Linked DNA regions of Homo sapiens: all the other regions are linked to region 2. Evidence: promoter capture Hi-C in 16 types of primary human blood cells and fetal thymus (Javierre and others, 2016). All regions are on one chromosome and are shown on one strand. The core of a region is centred on a gene start or on the middle of the fragment in contact, and the rest is flanking DNA. Distances in the headings are between cores, read along the strand shown. Region 1 has its middle 11 kb from the start of AKAP11. Region 2 holds the start of NAA16 (N-alpha-acetyltransferase 16, NatA auxiliary subunit). Region 3 overlaps DGKH (diacylglycerol kinase eta). Region 4 holds the start of VWA8 (von Willebrand factor A domain containing 8).

Evidence for each region. Contacts are between HindIII fragments. The CHiCAGO score rates a contact against its expected background, and 5 or more counts as called.
Region 1: a contact is called between a fragment that was not itself captured here and the fragment with the promoter of NAA16 in region 2, in 1 of 17 cell types (erythroblasts). The highest score is 6.0, in erythroblasts.
Region 3: a contact is called between a fragment that was not itself captured here and the fragment with the promoter of NAA16 in region 2, in 1 of 17 cell types (megakaryocytes). The highest score is 5.3, in megakaryocytes.
Region 4: a fragment that was not itself captured here is called in contact with the fragment with the promoter of NAA16 in region 2 in 5 of 17 cell types (fetal thymus, total B cells, monocytes and 2 more); the score reaches 8.7 in fetal thymus.

Annotation. Positions count from the first base shown.
Region 1 is chr13:42,259,818-42,263,399 of GRCh38, forward strand. No RefSeq gene overlaps it. Among named protein-coding and RNA genes, the nearest start is that of AKAP11, 11 kb to the right of the region's middle. RefSeq lists a cis regulatory region at 1-156. The HindIII fragment of the contact is 3,886 bases long and covers 1-3,582 here.
Region 2 is chr13:41,309,528-41,313,067 of GRCh38, forward strand. NAA16 (N-alpha-acetyltransferase 16, NatA auxiliary subunit) reads left to right here and starts at 1,740. Exons shown (of 20, transcript NM_024561.5): 1 at 1,740-2,055. The coding sequence starts at 2,002. It also overlaps a transcript of MTRF1 not described here. The HindIII fragment of the contact is 1,668 bases long and covers 1,369-3,036 here.
Region 3 is chr13:42,119,226-42,122,878 of GRCh38, forward strand. All of the region lies in intron 1 of DGKH (diacylglycerol kinase eta), which reads left to right. Among named protein-coding and RNA genes, the nearest start is that of DGKH, 72 kb to the left of the region's middle. The HindIII fragment of the contact is 2,422 bases long and covers 1,086-3,507 here.
Region 4 is chr13:41,960,714-41,964,121 of GRCh38, forward strand. It overlaps VWA8 (von Willebrand factor A domain containing 8), which reads right to left and starts at 396. Exons shown (of 45, transcript NM_015058.2): 1 at 140-396. The coding sequence starts at 302. VWA8-AS1 (VWA8 antisense RNA 1) reads left to right here and starts at 456. Exons shown (of 4, transcript NR_039974.1): 1 at 456-1,521. RefSeq lists a silencer at 66-475. The HindIII fragment of the contact is 708 bases long and covers 909-1,616 here.

The DNA of each region.
Region 1 (3,582 bases), core at 441-2,940, 950 kb after region 2:
TAGCAATCCTTTTGTCTTAGGTTACCTGAATAGTTCTGCTTCGAACAGCTTGGCCCTCCTGCTAATTTTCCTCCGGTTCTATGCTAGGTTGGCTTCTTGCTTGTTTCTGGGACCCCTCTATTTATTTCCCTATTAGAGACCACAGCTTATGCTTGACTTAGACTCTTTAGTAACTGCATCGTACCCAACCTAAGCACCCCACTGTCTTCAAGGCTACTGACTCCAAGCCAGACCTTCACTGCTATTTTGTCCCCATTCCTCAGGTCAAGCCTCAAGAAACCATATGAAAAGAAAGAATGAAAAGGTATTGTGGAACAGCAGAAATGTGCCTGTTGATAACAATTGATGACAATTATTTGATTTTGTGACAGACCCTTGGGAGTCAATAAGGCACAGTCGCTACCTGCCTTCAAGTGGCACATTGGTCAAGTTGGTTATGAAGAACCAAAGATAATGTGTAAAACAGGAGTAATGTGTATGGCCAGAGTCACAGACTAGGGAAATGTATCCCATGTAGGCTTCCTGACAAATGTCTTTTCAAGAATTCTCAAGGAGAGTCAGATCCTTGGGACAGGAGGTGATGCTACCCCCTTCAACTGGACTAATGAGTTTTCTAGGGACCAAATTGCAGTAGAAATCCCAGCACTGTGGGTCTCTGCATCTTCCCTGTAGGGCAGTGGCCAAAGATCCCAATGGCAGGCAGAGATGAGGTGGCAGGCTCTCAGTATTTGTTTTTTTTCTTGTATTCCATTTGTTAAAGTATTGGATTTCTTTCCAGTGGAGTGAGAGTCTGAGGTGACATAAACTACATATTCCCAAATATAAAGTATGAAGAATAGGAGTTGAATTTGGCAGGATGAAGGAGGGACTAATGAAGTACACTCTGGAATTTGAAAGCATTAGGAGTTGTAATTATGTGTTACATACACAATGGTCATGATGAGGAGATGAGAACGGTAACATGTAGATTTGTTAAGAGTTATGTATAGAGAAATTACCAAGATGTCACTGAGACTAGTAACATTCCTTTAGGGTTGTCCCTGGGTACCACTGTTGACATATCATTTGAAGGTCTTAACATCCTTGAGAAAACTTGTCAGTTATTCTTGGTGGCTTAGAATTCTTCAACATATTCTACAGCTGCAAACACAAGTAGGCCCAAGAAATACCCTGGTTAGAAAATGTAGTTAATGCACATTTTGTGTTCCGAGATAAGAGTGGATGACATTTAAATAAGCAAGTTAGCTGACAGGAAGAAGAAACGATCAGTTAGTTATCTTGGTAGTGGGAAGGGTGGCACTGAATGTTGCAGATAGTGACTATCTGAGGCCGATGTTGTGTAAGTGGTAATAAGAATTTACCAAGTGATATGGGTTGGCTCTGTGTCCTCACCCAAATCTCATCTTGTAGCTTCCATAATTCCCACGTGTTATGGGAGGGACTCAGTGGGAGATGTTTGAATCATGCGGGTGGGTCTTTCACATGCTGTTCTCATGATAATAATAAGGCTCACGAGATCTGATGGTTTTAAAAATGGGAGTTTCCCTGCACAAATTCTCTCTCTTTGCCTGCCACCATCCATGTAAGATGTGACTTGCTCTTCCTTGCCTTCCACCATGATTGTGAGATCTCCCCAGCCGTGTGGAGCTGTAAGTCCATTAAACCTCTTTTTCTTCCCAGTGTTGGGCGTGTCTTTATCAGCAGTGTGAAAATGGACTAATACACCAAGACAATTGTAAGTAAAGAAAGACAGATTTATTAGAGAAAGTATGAAAGTATGTTTCAAGGAAGTAATGGGCAGGTCAGCAAGAGAGGAGCTGACTGCAAGGAGACAAAGGCCTGCTGAAGATTTTATAGGATGGTGCTTCTGTTATGTGAAGAGGGCTTTGTGCAGTACTGATAACACTAAGGTTTCAGTGAGCTAATTTGCATTTTTCTATCAGCCAAGGGTCTGGTGATAGCTAGGCACAGGAAGATTGTGAGTTAAATGTGCAAGAGGGCTATGTGTCCTGGACCATGAAGAAAGGCAGACTTATAACTTACCTGTTTTTTCTTTTTGCTTTCCTGTGGTCCTGCAGTCTGATTCCTTTTCCCAAATTAGGACTTCACATTGAAAATATATTATAGCCTTAGGGGTTGGCTGATTATTTCTGTACAGCTAGTAGTCTGGGGGTCGTATCCCAGGACAGGTCCATTTTGACTGACCGGTAGAGAAGAGGTTCTGCCTAAGGCAGGATATAAACAGGGTATCCAAATTCTTTTCTAAACTGAGATATTTTTGAAAAATAAAAGAGGCGCTAATAACAGGCAGCAACTGTGATTGTACCAGTCAAAATAGAATGTAAAATCACCCTAAATAGAAATACAGAAGGGTCCTCAGACCACAGCAATTTTGTTCATGGCTTTGTGGACCAGTATTACTATCCAAGTGACTCCTCTGGGGGTTCCCTGGCATAGGTGGAAGTGAGCCACTGGTTCTTGGAACAGCTCTGAAAGTGGTATTATATTACTGAGAGGAAGGGAGCTTAGTGAGGAAATCCATTATCAAGGTGGCCCAGGGGAACTGAATGTTTGGCAGGGATCACAGAAAACCTTTGGCTTTTCCCAGTAGGTGTTTGTTCTTCTGTATATTTTGTATATCATTGTATTCCACTACTTCCATTTTTTGACCTAGAGTTGTTAGAAGTCATGAGTCAAGGAAAGTAGAACCTTGTGTTCACCAAAATGAATGAATAAACAGAGGGCAGGATTCATGACAATTTTCTATAACATGTAAGTCATTTGAAACACACTTCTGTCTGAGGGCAAGCAGAGGGTTTGCTAGATCTCTTAATATATTATTGCCATTCCTGGGTGAGAAATGAGAAGGTCCAGTAGAAGCTGGATCATAGGAGAAAACACTATAGTATTACAAAACCCAGTCCCCAATGGAGGTGGTAAATTAGATTACTGAGAACAAGGAGAGGAAACATTTGCCATGTTCTGGCAGAAGGGGCTGGAATATAGATTCTGTATGGTGTCTAAGAATCAAGCATCATTTCTGTAGAGAGGGCTCTCTGTTTGTAGGATGGCATCATCCAGTCATATCTTAATGAGGGGATGCTGTAGCAGACAGCTGCACTGACCATGTAGCTAGAGACCAGGCAGAAATGTGGGTACTTCAGTGGAGGCTGATGTGGAAAGGTAGTAATGATCAAGAAACAGATAGCATAGTATACATTTCAGTGGACTTCAGTGGAGGACTTTATTCCTTCCTGGAACTTAGGTGAGAATTCTTAGAATTACATAAAGAGTAAAATGAGCAAGAAGTGTTCACAATAATTTTTTTAAAGTTACAAAAATATAGACTAATATTAAACTTCGAAGAGCATAGGGTTTGACACTGAAACCCAAGTAGCACCTTATAAATGTTGGCTTCTCTTTCACAGAAAAGAAATGCCGTTTCCTCAAACCATACATGAAAATTAGTATGATATTTTATCAGACCTTATTTTACTGCAGATATTACTTTCATCCGGAGTTTATATGCAATTTCAGAATAGCTACTGACCATCTAAAAAGGATAGAAAAAGTACAGGCCAT
Region 2 (3,540 bases), core at 490-2,989:
TGGGTATATACCCAGCAATGGGATTGCTGTGGACCCCCAATTTTAATGACAGTACTTTCCCTATTTTAAAGGACTCCTATGATGCTTTAAAATCATGTGTGAAACGTAGGAGATTGAAAGAAAAAAAAAGACTCCTATGATTCTTTCATGTCCAACCAACTTAGGCTAGAAAGAAGGAAAATCAAATAGGCAGGCACTGTGGCTCACACCTGTAATCCCAGCACTTTGGAAGGCCGAGGTGGGCAGATCACCTGAGGTCGGGAGTTTGAGACCAGCCTGACCAACATGGAGAAACCCCGTCTCTACTAAAAATACTAAATTAGCCAGGTGTGGTGGTGCATGCCTGTCATCCCTGCTACTTGGGAGGCTGAGGCAGGAGAATCGCTTGAACCTGGGAGGCGGAGGTTACAGGGAGCTGAGATAGCGCCATTGCATTCCAGCCTCGGCAACAAGAACAAAACATCGTCTCAAAAAAAGGAAAATAAAAAAGGGCAGCCCAGTTCTGATTACAGCCGACTAAATGCAGTTACTCATCAATTACTTTATAGTCTCAGAAATATGCACCCATTAAGATTCAGCACATGTATAAATAAACTTATGTACCTAATGTTTACACACACCTTACTACTAACCCTACACTGAATGTATGGTTTATTCTTGCCACTGTTGTATCTTTCTAGACTCACACATTACCATCAATATGCTGCCTTTTATTTGTTGTAGAGAGTATCCCAGAGTTGGAAGATCCTGAATTTGAAGCCTGTTTCTCCCATTATTATATGGCTTTCAGGAAGGGGAACCATCTGAAGAGAAAGGGTAGGTAGACTCAGAAGACCAGTGGCCTTATAAAACCGTAATTCCGGCCAGGTGTGGTGGCTCACGCCTGTAATCCCAGCACTTTCGGAGGTTGACGCGGGGGCGGATCACGAGGTCAAGAGATCAAGACCATCCTGGCCAACATGGTGAAAGCCTGTCTCTACTAAAAATACAAAATTAGCCGGGTGTGGTGGCGCATGCCTGTAATCCCAGCCACTCGGGAGGCTGAGGCAGGAGAATCCTTTGAACTCAGGAGGCGGAGGTTGCAGTGAGCCCAGATAGCGCCACTGCACTGCAGCCTGGGCGACAAGAGCGATACTCCATCTCAAAACCAACCAACCAAACAAAAACAAAGATTGTAAATGTTTGTTTGGTTTGCCCTGGAAAGAGAAGGCTTCTACTTAGAGTCTGAATCAAGGAGGAAAAGGAAAGAAAACAAGTTCATCTTTCATCAAAAGTCTACTTTGCATCGGACACTTAAATTCCTAAATGGGGAGAAATGCAAAAAACTCTGACTCTTCAGAGTCATAACTAACATTATCTTGCGCCACAAGCTTATCAAGAGTGCAATACAAGTCAGTGTCTTCTCTTTTCTACTTAAAAGAAAATTCTCGTTTTTATTTATTACTTTATTGCAAGGAGAAGCAGACAATAAGTAGGAGTCTTATGAGGCGTTCTGATGCATAGGAGCAATGGTGAATGAGGGTGGTGACTCACCACCCCATGGGACTCCAAGGTTTTGGTGACAGCTCGCCTGAGCCCCAGGGGGTGCCGAGATTGCGGCGAGGAGAGCCGCAGCACAAGGCAAATCCACGCGGTTGGTCCCCGCTACGCCCCCGTAGTCACCCGCAGCCCCTCGCCAAAGGGCGCTCCGCGCATGCGCACAGGATCCGGCTCGGGAGGCGGACCCTGGCTGCCATCTTGCAGTGCGCGGGAACCGCCGCCGCCGCCGCTGGCCAAAAAGCGGAGCCCAGGGGAAGCGTGTCCTGCTCAGACCGCCTTCCTTCTCCATTGCCACCCGTGCCGAACAGCCAGGCTGCCCAATTGCAACTGTAGACCAATGAACTAATCCATCGCCCGCAGCCCGACTCTCAGCAGCGGTTCGTCCCGGTGCCCACCCCCGCGAAGCGGAGCGCCCGGGCACCTAGCCTCCCTGCCGGCCACCTAGCCTCCCTGCCGGCCACGATGCCGAACGTGCTGCTGCCGCCCAAGGAGAGCAACCTCTTCAAACGCATCTTGGTGAGTGGCCGTAGGCCGCGCTGCCGCCCCCCGGTCCCCGGGTCCTCGGGCCTTAAGGGCAAGCGGTCTGGCGGCGGCCGGCGCGGGCCAGGCTTGGCCTCCGCTGCCCACCGCTCTTTGTTTACCTCGGAGGTCGCGGGACCCCACTTTCCCGCTCCGGCCGGCCCACGGGGGCTGCCGAGCCGCTCCTCCGTGCGCTTCCTTTCCGCGGTCTTCTGCGGCTCGCCTCACCCCCGCCGCGCTCTTTCCAGAAACTTCACGCCGCTCTCCGCAGTGCCCGGGCACAGCCGCCTCGGCCGGTAGTGGCTGCCGTGCTCTCTGCCGCGCCGGGCTCGCAGCAGCCCCTCAGGGATCCTCCCCCGGTGGTTTATTTTGCCAGTCTCTCCTCGGCTAGGTGTTTTGCGTTCTGCATTCTCTGCTTTGCGTTTAGTTAGATTGCACAGCACACCCGCATACCTATTAAAGCGGGATCGATGCGATGGTGGAATTTTTCCTGGTTACGAGGAAATAAAACCGGCAACTTTAGGAAGCCAGGCCTGGCACCACCTCCCTTTGGGAAAAAGTTTGCCTGTTTGTAATGTACCTTATTTACCTCTTTGGAAGTGAATATTTGACTTGAAGTGCGTTTCTGAGTTGTCACCAACTTCAAAACAGCTGTTTGCTTTTTAGTCGCACAGGCCTTGCTTGAGTAATTAAAGCCGCGTGGACTGGCTGGTTTTGCATTTGAGGGGAGCATTTTTACTTTATCGCGGAGCAGAAGCCTGAATAATGGCCCCGTAGTGATGACCGCTGCGGAGCCGGGTGGGCAGTTTTCTGTGGGCTGTGTGCCAGCGTCCCTGGTAGCTTTCCAGGTTCTGTTCTTCCAAGGAGAAGAGGCAGCATTCCTTTGCTTTCCTCAGTATCCTCTGGCTACCCTAGGTTTTAAACTAATATTGTTAGTAGGTAACTGTCTTTTCTAGTTTATCTTTTCACCTGAAAAAAAGCTTTTATTTGCTAAACATGCATTTAGGTTTAAAGGTGAATTTATTGAAAGCTGGGTTGGCTATATGGCTGTTAGTTGTTGCTTAACTTTACTATAAATAAAATACTAATTTTAGAGTAATTTTAAGTATGAACAGCGGCAGATAATTCATAGTAGCTGTTCTGTTTCAAGACGATAGAAACTTCACACTTAGTCTTCAGATTAGGATACATAGTAGATGGGATAAAAATTTTAAATATTATGTGGTGCTTAGTTTTGAACCAATAATAAGATACAAATGTGAGAACATTAAAAATACGAATAATTAAAGCACGTGGCAGGTTGCTTCATTGGGCTTTGTATTTTTTTATTTTACTTCTCATGCCCTTTTATTTTACACAGCATGGAATTGGAGAAGTAATTTATTTATTTTTATTTTTAATTTTTTTTTGCCCTGGGAATCTGAAACATTAATGATAATATCATTTATAAATCGCTAGTTGGATTTCAGGACATTTGGCATC
Region 3 (3,653 bases), core at 1,047-3,546, 810 kb after region 2:
ACTGTATTGAATGGGCATGACTGGACTGCATATTTTAGGCATTTTCAGGAAAAGAAATAAAGAATTTGTATGTGAATGAATCTGAGCAAGCATCTGAAAGAAGAGGAATGGATTTAGAGTAACAAAAGACTAGCATGATGTCACATGACAAAGTTCAGAGACGCTCCTCTTAGCCGAGGTGGCTTCCCATGGTGTTACTGGTCATCTGCACTCTGGTCCAAAAAGCAGTCCTGTGGTCAGTGCTAGGCCATAAGTCTTCAGTTCTGAACACGGTGAGATGGCTCTTCCATGACATTCAGTGTAGTTTCTTTCTCCTTCTCTCACTAACTTTGTTAGACTAGAAGCTACATTATCCTCTTAAAAGTTTTTAGCTCTTATCCCAAGGACTTTCTGGGATATTTAAGAGTGTTGTAATCTCTTCTTTTTAAAAAAATTATTTACATTATGGTAAAAATTTTATAACAAAAATTTTATAACAGAATTTACTATCTTAATCATTTCTAAATGTGCATTTCAGTAGCTTTAAGTATATTCACATTGTTTTGCCATGTAATCTGTATGTTTTTAAATGAATACTTCATATTCCTTTCTCATCAAGTTAATGATTATTTAACATACTATCAAGTCTTGATTTTTATACCTCTTATTTTTTGCACATTCTCTTTTTAATCATAAATGCTGAATCAATGTTATTTTTTTGAAGAATAACTCTCTTAAATACTGATAATACAAACTTTGATACTTCCTTTCTACTGTGGTTATATTTTCCCCATATTATCTTTTGACCTCTCTCTATGGCAGTGTCCTTTTATGAGTCACAAGTGCACACTTTATGCAGCAGTGAACCATGAAACTGGATAGGACATTAAAGACTCTGAACCGTTGTTTGGTTATTTCAGGTTATTGAGGTGTGGGTGCTAATTGAGCTTTCCTAGTCTAAAGTGAAAATAATATGTTACCCAGAGGTTCCACATCTCCAATCTTGGTTTGAAAATAAACTAGGACTGAAAACATGGAATGAAAATATATTCTTTTGTGTTTTGAAGGAATGAATATTTGAATTCAAATTAATTTTTCTTAGGGTAAGCTTTTCATTTTTATAAAATAATGTTTAATCATCTTGGGAAGAACAACTATGTAGTATATCTTCAAAAATAAAATTTTCAAATTGAATAAATAAGTATATTTCAAACTTTCGAATTAGGAAATGCCTGTATATTTTAGGATTTGTTTGGTTATATAATTATTAACTACTGCTGAAAATGCAACAGAAAATTGGAACTCAAAATTTTTCAGTTATTGCTCTCTAACCTCAAGTAATATCAAATTACGCTGTTTCAAATGGTATAGGAGACCATTAAGCTAACTGAAGACAAAGTTTAAAAGAATTATTATTTGTTACCCATAACCATATTAAGGATATGATTTATTTAAAAAACAACAACCAAAAAACTAATCCAATTATTTAAAAAACAACCACCAAAACACTAATCCAATTTACTGTTATATGGAGGCTGTAATTTTTAGTTATGGTAGATCTCGAAAGTTCATGAACCCTCTAAAATTGTATGTAATTTTTAGTGTGTATATTGTGTGTGTATGTGCGCACATGCAGGCATGTTTCTGGAGAGATAGTATTCACAACTTTCAACAGATTCTGAAAAGGCATCTTGATCCAACCAAAGTTATGAACCACTGTCACAGAGGTTACTTTGCCCATTTTCCTTTTTACTTACAGACCCCAACCCACAACTAGATTTTGTTCCAGAAGTAGTTTGTTTATGAACTGGTTGTTTGGAACTTAGACCACATTTTTCTATGAAAGTAATAATATATATTATACACACACACACACACACACACACAACATGCGCACACACACACACACGCACACAAGACATTCCCTGACTTACAGTGGTTCAACTTAATAATTTTCCAATTTTCTGATATGAAAGCAGTATGAATTCAGTACAAAACGTACTTTGAGTTCTCATGCAACCATTCTGTTTTCACTTTCAGTGTGATATTCAATTACATGAGATATTCAATACTTTATTAGAAAATAGGCTTTGTATTAGATGATTTTGCCCACCTGTAGGCTAACGTAAGTGTTCTGAGCACGTTTAAGGTAGATTAGGCTAAGCTGTGATGTTCAGTAGGCTAGGTATATGAAATGCATTTTTGACTTACAATATTTTCAACTTATGATGAGTTTATTAGTATGTTCATTGTAACTTGAGGAGCATCTGTACTTACATAAATTATAGAACCTTCACAATGGTGATACAAAGACAAATGAGATAGACCTCCCGGACTCCAAGGAGTTTATAATCCAGGCCAGTGCAAAAGGCAGGTAAAACCTATCCTCAGTTGAGATTGACCTCCTAATTTGCCTGTGACCTTCCTGTTCATTTTTCTGCAGCTATGTCAGGACTCATTCCTTCTCACCACTACACCCATAGAAGTATTAGGCAACTGGTATCCTTGGGATTCAGACACATGAGACTATAGCATGGGGACTTAAGCGTTAAGGCAGATTTATGACATGGTTTCTATGGAAAGATGTACTCCTAGTTCTAACTTGGAACCCAGGTTCCTGGGACACAGAGAGTCCTTCACTTGGAGCCTCATTAGTGGATACTGTCTGTGTGATGAATGAAGAGTACACCTCACCTCCGCCGTGGAGTCTCTCCCTCAAGAGTTCTTTACACAGCCAGAATAAAGACCTTCTCATTACTAATGACCATTTGTGTTTGAAATATTCATAAGTCAGACTTTTCTTTCTGAGGTGCGGCATGAAAAATTTTCCCCACTACCCCAATTAGGTTCTTGATGAGGGACATGATAGTTCTTTGTAGCTAGACTACATAATTTCTGGTAGAACTTTTATAATATATGTTAGTTGTTGACCAAAGGGAGAAGCTAAAGGGTGAAAGAGGGCAGAAAGAGAAAGTGGAATGAGAGGGCATGAGTGCTTCATGATGTCATCACAAGATTTAGCTTCTCATTATGCCACATAAAGAGTGGCAGTTTCTTAGTTCATTTTTCTTGCTTAGAACACCTGAGGCTGGGTGATTTATAAGGAAAATAAATTTATTTGTTACAGTTCTGGAGGCTGGAAAGTCCAAGGGCATAGCTGGGCATCTGGTGAGAGCCTTCTTCCTGGCAGGGACTCTCTGCAGAGTCCCAAGGTTACACAGAGTATCACATGGCAAGGGGGCTGAGCATGCTAATGTGCTAGCTCAGATCTTTCTTTCTTCTCTTGTAAAGCCATCAGTTCCACTCTCATGTTAGCCCATTGATCCATTAACCATTAATCTATGTATGGATTAATCCATTCATGCAGGCAGAGCACTCATGACCCCATAGCTTCTTGAAGGCTCTAGGTCTCAACACTGCCATATTGAGGATTGTATTTCATCATAAGTTTCAGAGGGGACATCAAATTATAATAGACAGTGTCAGTCTTTCTTTATAATTCTTCATGTTTTCTACAGGTCCTGGGAAAGCTTTTTAGATTAGACTGTTAGCGTATCTTGTCATTGCATATGATGTGTGCACATATTTTGAAACATGGATCAAGAAGACATGCTCCACCTATATAGATGAATAGGAGGAAATTTTGTCTTCAGAGAATACAGCAAAGAGTGGTC
Region 4 (3,408 bases), core at 13-2,512, 650 kb after region 2:
ACCTCAATCTTTCAGCTCCCCGCTCGGCAAACGGTCCTTCCAAGCGCAGCGAAGCAACAGAGAGGAGGGGCGGGGGCGCGCGGGGACCCGGCACGGAGCGCAGGGGCACCAGGGAGGACAGGGGCGCACCCCGAGTTACCTGTGTCGGCCCCCGAGCCGGCGTGCAACAGTCTGACCTCCGGCCGCTGCCTGTCGCCACCCGGCCTGCGCTGCACCACCTGCCGCAGGAGCAGCCGCATGCGCCGCGAGGCCGGGCCGCCGTGGCCTCCGGGTGCCCCGAGGAGTAGAAGCCGGGATTGCATGGCGCCGGGGGGGCTGTCGGGGACGGCGAGGGGGCTCGGGGATCGAGCGGCGTCCCGTGCAGGCACCGTGAGGCAGCGCGGAGAAGGGGACAGGAAGCGGCACCTAGCCGAGTCCGCCGGAAACTCCTTCCCCCGCGGCGCGGCCGGCTCAGTAGACTCAGCCCGGCCCTACCCGGCCCTGCATGGCCCAGACGGGCGGAAAGAGCCTGCGGAGCTCCAGCCCAAAGAGCCGGCACCGTCCCGGGACTGCCCGCACCGCGGGGGTGCTCCGAGCTGCGGCGCTGGGCTCTGGCAAGCGCCTCGCAGTCCGTGAGACTGTCTGTTCACCTGGATGCACCAGGCCTTCACCCGCCGTTTCCCTGCGATCCCACAGAATCTCAGGAGTTCAGTAAATGCCAAGGGTTTTAGGAGCATTTGTCGGTGTGACTCTTCAGATGCTTGCCCCAAGTCTTCGTTTCTTAGTTAAAGGCCCAGTAAGTATAGGGAGCTTTCCCTGTATTCGGCTTCAGATTTCGGAAATGGAGAAAACATGCACAAGATGATGGGAACTTTCACAACTGTCTTGATTCATTGTAACCACACTAGTGTTTCCAAACCGTACGTGAAAGCTTTACCCTTTGTCCTTTTGGTGGTGGTTGTTTGTTTCTGTGTTTTATTACCGCTTCCTAAATTCTAAGGAAAAAATTCACATCTTAGTGATAGATGGAAATTGCTTAAATATCAGAAAGGATCCAGATCAAGCACTTTTCTAGTCATGCTGTAATACAAAAGTTATATAAAGATGATTTATGTCTTTAGTAAAGGAAAAAGTAGGACACTGGCTAAGGCTGCCTCCCTCTTGTACATTCCAACATCGGAAATGGTCCTACCACAAAGCAAACTAAGCCTAATGTAATTAGACTGCATCCCCAAAATGTCACAGTGAATTGACTAAGGCAAAATATTTGAGACAAGTTATACAAGCAAACATCAAAAAGAAGGCAGAAGACCTCACTTTCAGCTAAAGACCTTGCTAATTCTAGAGCTGCCACTGTCTAAATACATAGCACCTACCCTGCGCCTGACCCTGTGATGAGTGCTGAGAAGAGAGTGTTAGAGTGGAGACTGTAAAAGTCAAACAAGGCTAGGTAAGGAAGGCTTTGGGCATCCAGCGGAAGAACTTGAGGAATGAAGGCTGAACCAGGCTTCTAACCTAGATGAGGAGACAGTGAAAATAAAGGTAATAAGTAGTTACACAATATATTATGACTTCGTTTCATGTGTATCTTCTCATTTAATCCTCATAGCAACCCTAAGACATAAATTTAGGATGTAAGCTTATAAAATGCTTTTCCTACTTTGAGCACATTGTATGTATCAAGATTTTAATGAATTATCCCATTTCACATAAAAATGCTTTGAGGTACTATTATTATCCTCCGTTTTACAGATGAAGAAACTGAGGCTAGAAGAATTGAATACCTTGGTCAAGATATCTCCATTTAATCTCGCTGGAACTCAGTAGACACCTGAAAGAATGGGAGAACAACCTAAGGCAATTTTGCAAAGTGGTTGATATAAGCACTAAGAGCTCTTGGAGTTAAGACAATGGAGAGATCAACACAAGTTAGAGCATTCAACAACATTTTTTGCCTAGTTTTATTTTTTTTAGAGACAAAGTCTCACTCTGTTGCCCAGGCTGGGGTGCAGCGGCAGTATTATAGCTCATTGCAACCTCGAACTCCTGGGCTCGAGTGATCCTCCTGCTTCAGCCTCCCTAGTAGCTGAGACTACAGGCGTGCACCACTGTGCCTGGCTAATTTTTGTGTTTTTGTTTTCGTAGCAGTGGAGTCTTGTTATGTTGCCCAGGCTGGTCTCAAGCTCCTGGCCTCAAGTGATCCTCCTGCCTCAGCCTCCCAACGACAACATTTATTGAGTAACTGCTGTATAAACAGTACCCTGCTAGATACTGTGAATCAATGGGCTCACATTAGGTATTGATGATAAATATGCAAATAAAGAATTGCAATACAGTGAGACACGTGTCAAGAGATTTAGGTTCAACATACTGTGGAGTGGATTGCTGCACCTGGAGTCTTCACAGAGAAGGTAGTGTTTGAAATGATTCATGTAGGATATATTATACAAGAGTTTGTCAGGCTGAGACAAGTCAAATCTGGCAGACAGATCATGTACAGAGAGAGAGAGAAAGAAACAGCTGAAAGTGCAGGGCATGATTGAGAACCAGAGAGTGATTCAGTGTGTCTAGAGGTCAAGTATATACAACAGTTTGTAAGAATAAGACCAGAAAGAGAATCTGGGGCCATGTTGTATGCCAAGAGAAGGAGTTTGCACATTAACCTCCAGGAAATGGAAAAATGGTGAAGGTTTTTTAGAGTGACAAAGCTACAATGGGGAGGAAAACTTTGAGCCTGAGAAAAGGCAGCACCTGAGCTTAACTTTGAATGCCATTTAGGACTGGATACACAGAGAAGCGGGGTATAGAGCCTAAGTAGAGGCTTGGAGTCCTGACAGAGTTCAGTTACAGGGGCCATGAGACCAGCCAGATGAGGAGGTTAATCTTTCGAAAGTAGTAGAAGGTGTTGGCAGAGCAGGAGGAGAAGGTTACAGAGTGAAGAATCTTGAGTAGCTGGATGAAGTTGGACTTCATCCGATGAGCAAACTGGGCAGCTACTGGACTTTTTGATCGTGTTTTAGGTGGTGACATACTATGAATTGAATTAGGAAGACAGGAAGCATCAAGTGCTAGCTACGTGGCAGTAAAAATAGTCTCTACTTGAAATGATGAACAGTGCTGATGGCAATGAGACTGAATGGGAAAGAATGGACCTTCACAATGTTTTTAAAGAAGAACCAAAGGTGTTTTGTTTTAAAAGATGTTCATCACAATCTGTGTAAAGTCTCTCAAACTCTCACTAAAATATCTGATCACATGCTTATTAAAAAACAAGCTACCAGCCGGGCACAGTGGCTCAAACCTATAATCCCAGCACTTTGGGAGGCTGAGATGGGTGGATCACCTGAGGTCAGGAGTTGAGACCAGCCTGGCCAACATGGCAATACCCCATCTCTACTAAAAATACAAAAATTAGCCAGGCGTGATGGT